Regions from separate parts of the Homo sapiens genome. Here all the other regions are linked to region 2. Evidence: promoter capture Hi-C in 16 types of primary human blood cells and fetal thymus (Javierre and others, 2016). All regions are on one chromosome and are shown on one strand. The core of a region is centred on a gene start or on the middle of the fragment in contact, and the rest is flanking DNA. Distances in the headings are between cores, read along the strand shown. Region 1 overlaps LOC107984906 (a long non-coding RNA gene). Region 2 holds the start of RHOT2 (ras homolog family member T2). Region 3 has its middle 6.0 kb from the start of CACNA1H.

What was found. The method cuts DNA at HindIII sites, captures the fragments that hold promoters and counts their contacts. A CHiCAGO score of 5 or more calls a contact.
Region 1: a contact is called between a fragment that was not itself captured here and the fragment with the promoter of RHOT2 in region 2, in 1 of 17 cell types (naive B cells). The highest score is 5.2, in naive B cells.
Region 3: a contact is called between a fragment that was not itself captured here and the fragment with the promoter of RHOT2 in region 2, in 1 of 17 cell types (naive B cells). The highest score is 5.7, in naive B cells.

What each region holds. Positions count from the first base shown.
Region 1 is chr16:1,109,421-1,112,408 of GRCh38, forward strand. It overlaps LOC107984906 (a long non-coding RNA gene), which reads left to right. Exons shown (of 2, transcript XR_007064936.1): 1 at 1-2,988. Among named protein-coding and RNA genes, the nearest start is that of C1QTNF8, 15 kb to the left of the region's middle. The HindIII fragment of the contact is 1,716 bases long and covers 683-2,398 here.
Region 2 is chr16:666,882-669,409 of GRCh38, forward strand. RHOT2 (ras homolog family member T2) reads left to right here and starts at 1,251. Exons shown (of 19, transcript NM_138769.3): 1 at 1,251-1,355; 2 at 1,472-1,530; 3 at 1,607-1,688; 4 at 1,775-1,818. The coding sequence starts at 1,319. It overlaps WDR90 (WD repeat domain 90), which reads left to right. Exons shown (of 41, transcript NM_145294.5): 40 at 24-108; 41 at 551-949. The coding sequence ends at 708. RefSeq lists an enhancer at 962-1,643 and silencers at 1,029-1,368, 1,429-1,528, 1,629-1,718. The HindIII fragment of the contact is 48,981 bases long and covers 1-2,528 here.
Region 3 is chr16:1,145,799-1,148,498 of GRCh38, forward strand. No RefSeq gene overlaps it. Among named protein-coding and RNA genes, the nearest start is that of CACNA1H, 6.0 kb to the right of the region's middle. The HindIII fragment of the contact is 202 bases long and covers 1,239-1,440 here.

The DNA of each region.
Region 1 (2,988 bases), core at 291-2,790, 440 kb after region 2:
TGGAGTCTCTGAGGTCCATGGTATGGGCGGGGTCCAGACCCCAGCCTCTGAGGCTGCATGCAGGGCCCAGAGCTGTCACAGACTGTGCCCTGAGCTGCCCGCTGCAGAATGGAGACCAGGACAGTTCCTCCCTCCTGGGTGTTTGCGGGTGAAGCAGGAAGGTGTGCAGTTTCCTCCAGGGAAAGTCCTGGGCGTGCTTGGTGGAGGGAGAGGAGGCTGGGCACGCAGGGCCAGGTAGGGTGACGGTCCCACAGGCTCCCCATCCGAGGTCCCCCCGGGGCTATGCTGGCTCCCTACCTGGGGAAGTCCCAGGCCGCGGGGACAAGCCCGACGCCGTCCCATTCACCTTCACCACCCACCCGGAACCGGCCTTCCAGATACGGCCGAGTTAAACCACGTTCAGAGGGAGCCATAAAACTCCAGGGTGAGATGAGATCACACGCTGATCCTGACTGCAGATCCCGACTGCAGCGGGAAGATAAATGTCTGAGTGTTGAAGGGATTGGAGGAATCGTTGGAAGCAAGATGGATGGTCTCATAGATATGAAAGTGACTTCACGAAGAAACTTCTGCCTGGTGGAACGGAGTGGGACAGAGAGGAAAGGGCAGGGGAACAGGGGCAGGGGGCTGAGGCCCAGGCAGGTTCTGCTGCAGCCCACGCCCACCCGCCAGCACGCAGGGAAGCTTGACTTTCCTACCTCAGCTGTGCCAGCTGCCTGCAGTGCCTGGGCCTTCCATCCATAAGTCAGTGACAGTGAGGGCATGGCCTGGGAGTGAAGGTAGACACAGAACAGTGCCCGACAGGCGGCAGGTGCCTGAGAAGCATTTGTTATCATCGTCACTATCATCACTGTTTTTTTGTTTTTTGGTTTTGTTTTTTTCTGAGATGGAGTCTTGTGCTGTCGCCCAGGCTGGAGTGTAGTGGTGTGATCTCAGCTCACTTCAATCTCCGCTTCCTGGGTTCAAACAATTCTCCTGCCTCGGCCTCCTGAGAAGCTGGGACTATAGGCGCCCACCATCACGCCTGGCTAATTTTTGTATTTTTAGTAGAGACAGGGTTTCACCATGTTGGCCAGGCTAGTCTCGATCTCCGGATCTCATGATCCACCCGTTCAGCCTCCCAGAATGCTGGGATTCCAGGCGTGAGCCCCCGCTCGCGGCCACCGCTATGGTTTTATTCTGGTGTAAATCACGTAACAGAAACCTCACCGTTTTAACTGCCGTAAAGCGTGCAGTGTGGTGGCGTCTGGCACATTCGTAGCACTGTGCAACCATCGCTGCCATCTGGTTCCAGAATCTTTCGTTGCCATCCCCAAAAGGAAGCCCTCAGCCCATGCGTGGTTACTCCCATCTCCCCAGATGCTGGGAACCGCAACTCACTGCTCTGAGCACAGTGTGGAAGAGGAGTCTCAAGCATGTGGTCCTCTGTGTCCCGCTCCGCCCTGATGTGGTGACTTGAGGCCGGTCCCCTCTCCTGGCTGAGTTGTGTTTGCACTGTGGAGACTGTGAGCTGCACTCTGGTAATCATGTCTGTGCACGTTTTTGTCTGAAGACCCGTTTTCAACCCATTTGGGTATATCATTATTATTTTTTTGAGACAGGGTCTCACTCTGTGGCCCAGGCTGGAGCACACTGGTGCAATGGCGGCTCACTGCAGCCTCAAACTCATAGTCTCAGGCGAGTCTCCCATCTCAGCCTCCCAAGTAGCTGGAACTACAGGCACCTGCCACCGCACTCAGCTAATTTTTATATATTTTGCAGAGACAGGGTTGCCCAGGGTGGTCTCAGACTTCTGAGCTCAAGAGATCCACCCACCTTGGCCTCCTGAAGTTCTGGGATTACAGTCGTGAGCCACTACACTGGGCCAATTATTTTTAAAATCCTGCTAAAACCCACCTGAAAAGCCTTAAAGACCGTGACTTTCAAAACATGGGAATGGACCCCTGGCAACGTGAGAGGGCAAGCTCCGCCTTCCTGGTGTCTTTTTTTTTTTTTTTGAGACGGAGTCTTGCTCTGTCACCCAGGCTGGAGTGCAGTGACATGATCTCGGCTCACTTCAGCCTCCACCTCCCAGGTTCAAGCAATTCTCTGTTTCAGTCTCCTGAGTAGCTGAGATTACAGGCACCCACCACCACACCTGGCTAATTCTTTTGTATTTTTAGTAGAGACGGGGTTTCACCATCTTGGCCAGGTTGGTCTTGGACTCCTGACCTCATGATCCACCCACCTTGGCCTTACAAAGTGCTGGGATGACAGGCATGAGCCACCGTGCCCGGCCGGTCCTGCTTTCTAGAAAAAACTGTAGTGCGCGCTCCAGAGACGTAACCCGTTCCCACACCTGAGTGGGCAACTCTAGCCTTTGAACACAGCCCTAGGAAATGACTGCAAATGAGGGGGAAGCTTTTTAAATACAAGGAAAAAGGCATTTGTACCAAGCTACATCGCAGTGAAATTATCATTGGAAAACAGTGGAAAGAGGCTGTGTGTCCCCCCACGGGTCAGGCGCAGTCCCAGGGAGGTCTAGACCCCAAGAGCAGAGAGGCCTACGGGAGGCACGGCTTGTGCCAGGAGGTGGGGTATGCGGCCACCAGGCACTCTAGTTACACAGCGATGGGCTGAAGGCTGTGCATCCCGCAGGGAGTGAGCCCTCCGACCCTGGAGGAGTTCAAGCAGCTGCTTGTCAGGATGCAGCGACAGGAGGGACACCGTTGCAGCCGATGCCCGAGACAGCCAGAGGCTGCCGGCATCCAGCAGCAGAGAGGCTGGGCCTGGAATGGACCCCCAGAAGCTGGCCAGAGGCCTGGCAGTTGGGAAAGGCTCGGTCGTCCTGGGGAGGGAGCAGCACCAGCGGAGGCCCCGCCTGGGTCTTCATCAGAGACACTCCAAGCTGGTGGGGGATTCCTGGGACAGTGTCACCCCCGGCAGGCCCCAGGTGCCCACCGCCCACCCGGCCACAGTGGGAGCAGCTCGGGTCAGGGAGGCCGGGCT
Region 2 (2,528 bases), core at 1-2,500:
AGCCTCACGCTGGCTGCTCACAGGTGGTGGAGAAGATACCACTGCCCTTTTTTGCCATGTCCCTGAGCCTGTCCCCCGGGACCCACCTCCTGGCTGTTGGCTTTGCTGGTGAGTGCTGGTGGATGCAGTTTGGGCCTGTCTTAGGTGGGGGCCAAGTGGGCTGACTGGTGCCCTGTTCCAAGACAGGTGCCTCACCTGTGCCCCGGGCTCCTCGTCTCTGGGGTGGGGTGAGGACATCTGCCCTAGAGAGGGTCCTGGAGTCAGGAGATGATGAGGCAGGTGAGGAACCAGGCACAGCGCCCAGCACAGGGCCTGAATGCACGGGTGGCAGCGACTTTTAAGGAGGGAACTGGCCCAGCTGCAGGCCGACAGCCTGGCAGTGATGGACCCCCTAGTCCCAGTGGCACGTGGAGGGCACAGCCAGGAGCCCTTTTAGCACCAGCTCCCCCGACCAGCATCATGCCCAGTGGGGACAGTCTGGGTGGGTTGGGGGAGCCCTCTGAGTGCTGCCTGGTCCTGGCCCTGGCCCACCTGCACCGTCTACCCACAGAGTGCATGCTGAGGCTGGTAGACTGTGCCATGGGGACTGCCCAAGACTTTGCCGGCCACGACAACGCAGTGCACCTGTGCAGGTTTACACCGTCCGCCAGGCTGCTCTTCACGGCCGCCCGCAACGAGATCCTTGTGTGGGAGGTCCCCGGCCTCTGAGATGCAGCAGGGACTGTGGTGGTGGGCATCACGCCTGGTCATGCCAGGCACCTGGACACAGGCTTGGCAGAGGCGCCAGGTTGTCAATGGCCTCATGCTGGGACAGGCCAGGATTCACGTAAATCGCCTGGAGCAAGCTGTTGTAAATTTGGCGCCCTGTGAATACTTTCATACCTGTTGCCCTTTTGCCTAAGAAATCTTTAATGTTTCTATCTTGTAATAAACATGGGCATTTATTGCATTATTGCTGCATTGTTGCACTGGCTGTCTCTGGTCACTCCTGGCCTGAGCTCAGCCTCTGCCCGTCCCTTAATCGGCTGTTTGTCAAGGCCCCTGTGGTGCCGTGAAGCAATGGCCGCTCGGCCTGCCAGGGCGCCAGGACCCTGCGCTGTCCGCCGTGGCCGGCGCGTCCACACGGTGGCGCGCCGCACAGCCTGTCCGCTCTGGCCCGCCCGGCTCGCTGGTGCGGCTGTGCGGGCGGGGCCGGAAGTGTGGGGACAGCGCGGGGCCGAGAACCGGAAGTGCGGGGCGGGCGCGGGGGCAGAGCGAAAGGCTTGAGGACCAGGTCGGGGCCGGGTTCCGGGTCGGGGAGCGGCTCCGGGCGGCAGCTATGAGGCGGGACGTGCGCATCCTGTTACTGGGCGAGGGTAGGCGCCGGCCCGGGGGTCTCGGAGCTGCGGCGGCCGTGAGGCGGGGTGAGGGTCTCGGGGGTCGGGGGGCGCCGTGACCTTGGCCCTCGCGCTGACCGCCTCGCCCCGCGCAGCCCAGGTGGGGAAGACGTCGCTGATCCTGTCCCTGGTGGGCGAGGAGTTCCCCGAGGAGGTAAGGGGCACGCCCGCCGCGGGGGTGGGAGCGGGCCCAGCCGGGGGTCCCTGGTGAGCGCGCGGGTCCCTTGCAGGTCCCTCCCCGCGCGGAGGAGATCACCATCCCCGCGGACGTCACCCCGGAGAAGGTGCCCACCCACATCGTGGACTACTCAGGTAGCGGCCGTAGCCTCCCGGGGGCCCGGCCCGCAGCGGTCCGGCGGGCCTGCTGGGTCCGCAGTGGAGTCTCTTTGTCCCCCTAGAAGCCGAGCAGACGGACGAGGAGCTGCGGGAGGAGATCCACAAGGTACCCGTGGTGCGCGGGACGAGGGAGGGGCTGGGCGCGGGCTCGGCCTAATCCGCTTCGCAGCCTGGGGGATTGGACCGAGGTGCTCCGGGTGTCCTTGGCCCTGATAATTCTGTGACCTCCGCACTGAGGGTTGTCGGGGCCCCTACAGCGCACCCCGCTGGGAGCCGGCACCGCTCAGTCCAGTGGTGCTCCAGGGATAACAGGACCCTTCCCCGCGGGCTCTCCCTCCCTCCTGCCGGGGTGGCAGCAGCGTTTGCTCTTCCTGTGGGCTCTGTGTGCGCCACGTCCCCGTGCTGTGTGCTCCAGCCCACCGTCCCGGCCTCCGGGCACCCGGAGCTCCCAGTACCAGAGCACGTGTGCCGGGGACATCTCCAGGCAAGGGCACAGGCCACAGCCACCCAGGGCAGCCCCTGCTGTTGGCACCCCTCACTGCGGTCCTGTCACTCTGTCTGTAGCGAGGGGGGAGGCAGGGGCCAAGGCGGCGGCTGTCTTGCAGGGTGTTGGGTTGCAGGTGTGGCCGTGTCTGTCCTGAGCCCTCTGCTCCAAGGGTCTTGCTGACCACAGTTATGCTTCTGGGGCCTGGTGTCCCTGCACTGGCAGTGGGCGGGGAAGAGGCTTCTCTGAGGGTTCAGCAGCAGCTCCCAGTGTGACACTGGGGAGTGCCTGCTCTGCCAACACCAGGCTGGAGGCAGGTTTTAGGGAAGGCT
Region 3 (2,700 bases), core at 90-2,589, 480 kb after region 2:
AGGCCCACGCGTGGTCATCTGTGGTTCCAAGGGCCTCGCCTGGCCGAGCCGAGAGCTGGGGCACCCGGCACCTGAGGGTTGGAGGGGTGACGGACCCGGGGCTGCCTGCAGACCCACGTTTCAGGGGCTCCTCTTGTGTGGATCTCCTTGGAGCTCCCGGGGCTGGGCCTGGGCTGGGGTAGGGCGAGGTGGGGGTGTTGAGGGTGGTCTGGTGGCCAGACCTGGGATCTGGGGGACCTGCTGCATTACCTCTTGAGGACTCCCTAAGAAAGGACCCCGTGACTCTGCACCAGCTCAGCCCTTCCTGCAAGCAGAGGGGCTGTGCAGAGCTGGGGGCTGGTGAGGGAACCAAGCAGGGGAGAGGGGCACCCATGTCTGCTTTGCGCCTTCCACGGCCCCTTGAAGTCTGTCTGGAAGCACCCGGCCTGGGCTCACCCCATCCTGTCACTTTCCCTCCCAGGTCAACCCCTCCTCCTTCCCACTCCACAGTGATCCGGGGGATTCAGCAGCTCAGGCAGAGTTGGGTGCTGCCAGGCACGTGCCCTCTGCCCACCCCCACACACCCCAGACTCAGCTCCCTGCCCCCCATGCCCTCGGAGGAGGCTTCCCTGACACATTTGGGTCCAGGAGACTGAACCAGACGTGTCCACCCCGGCCTCAAGGCCTTGGCCCAGGCCAGAGGCAGCCCCACCCCTAGGGCCTCCGAGATCCTGCGGACCCCAAGGGACAGGCTGAAGGCTCTGCTCCCCCAGCCCAGCTCCATCCTGGGTTCTGTCTCCTCCCATGAGGCCACGCCCTCTGGCTCCGCCCCCACAGGGAGCTGTTAAAAATGGCCTCCCTCTTTCTGAGCCTTTGTCACGTGCGGGCTCCCATCCTTCATGACTGCTTTCACAGCCTGAGGCGGAGCTCACACACGGACGGACGGCTCACCCACTTATGGGTGAGTTTTCAGTGCACCCAGCGGTGCAGCCGTCTCTGCAGGTCTCGCTCTGTCGCCCAGGCTGGAGTGCAGTGGCACAATCTCCACTCACTGCAGCCTCGACCCCTCAGAGTCAAGTGATCCTCCTACCTCAGCCTCTCGAGTAGCTGAGATCACAGGCACCACCACCACACCTGGCTAATTTTATTTCATTTTTTTTTTTTTTTTTTTTGTAGAGACGGGGTTGGGTCTCAGTATGTTGCCCAGGCTGGTCTCAAATTCTTGGGCTCAAATGATCTTCCTGCCTGGCCCCCATAAAAGCTTGGATTGCAGCTTTTATGGTGGTGTCAACTGTCACCGCCCTAAAATAAACCCCTTTCTGTGTTAGTCTGTTTCGTGTTGTTGTAAAGGAATGCTTGGGACTGGGTGATCTCTAAAGAAAAGAAGTTGATTTGGCTCACGGTCCTACAGGCTGTATAGGAAGTACAGCGCAGGTATCTGCTTCTGGGGAGGCCTCAGGAAGCTTCCAATCATGGCAGAAAGGAAGGAGAACCCAAAAGTCACATGGAGGGAGAGGGTGCCAGGGAGAGGAGGAGGTGCCAGCTGCTGTGTGAACTACTGGAGCAAGAAAGCACTCATCATCACTGGACAGCAGCAAGCCACTCCTGAGGAATCCGCCCCTGGTGCAGACACCTCCCACCAGGCCCACTTCCAACCCTGGAAGTCACGTTTCAACATGAGATTTGGAGGGGGGGCCACACATCCAAACCAAACAAACCCTCTGCTTGCTAGACGTCTCCCCTCCCCCACCCCCCCTCCCCCAGCCCTTGGCAGCCACCCCTCTTTGTTCTATGGATTTACCTGTGCTGAAAATCTCATCTAATGATCCTATGATGTTTGTCATTTTGTGTCTGGCTTATTTCACTTGGTGTGATGTCTTCAATGTTCATCCACGTGTGTCAGAATGTCATTTTTTTTGAGACAGAATGTTGCTCTGTTGCCCAGGCTGGAGCGCAACGGCGTGATCTCTACTCACTGCAAGCCCCACCTCCCGGGTTCAAGCGATTCTCCTGCCTCAACCTTCTGAGTAGCTGGGACTACAGGCGCCCACCACCATGCCCGGCTAATTTTTGTATTTTTAGTAGAGACAGAGTTTCTCCGTGTTGATCATGTTGATCAGGCCGGTCTCAAACTCCCAACCTCCTGATCTGCCTGCCTCAGCCTCCCAAAGTGCTGGGATTACAGGTGTGAGCCACCGCGCCCGGCTGTGTCATTCCTTTTCATGGCTGAATAATATTCCACCATATGAAGAGGCCACATTTTATCTGCTTATCTGTGGGATACTTGGGATGTCTACACCTTTGGCTTTTGTGAACGATGCTGCTGTGGACACCCGAGTCCACAGTTCTGTGTGGACACACATTTTCATTCCTCTTGGGCACACCCGGAACAGAAATTGCCAGGTTGCATGGTAATTCCATATTTAATCATTTGAGGAACTGCCTGTTCATGATCACTTTTTATTTGATGAAGCATTGATTTTCCAGAGAAGGAAATTTAAGGCTCAGAGAGGGTAAGACACATGTCCAAGGCCACACAGCCAGGAAGTGGTGGAGCTGGCATTTGAACCCAGGCCGTGCGTCTGCAGAGCCAGAGAAAGGCCCGGAGCTTCCCTCCCCAGGTCCCCAGGCGGCCTGCGGGCCCCTCCACAGCCCAGTGATCCTTCAAGCACTCCCAAGCCCAGCCTCCGCCTGCAGCCCCTCCACAGCCTGTCCAGGGCA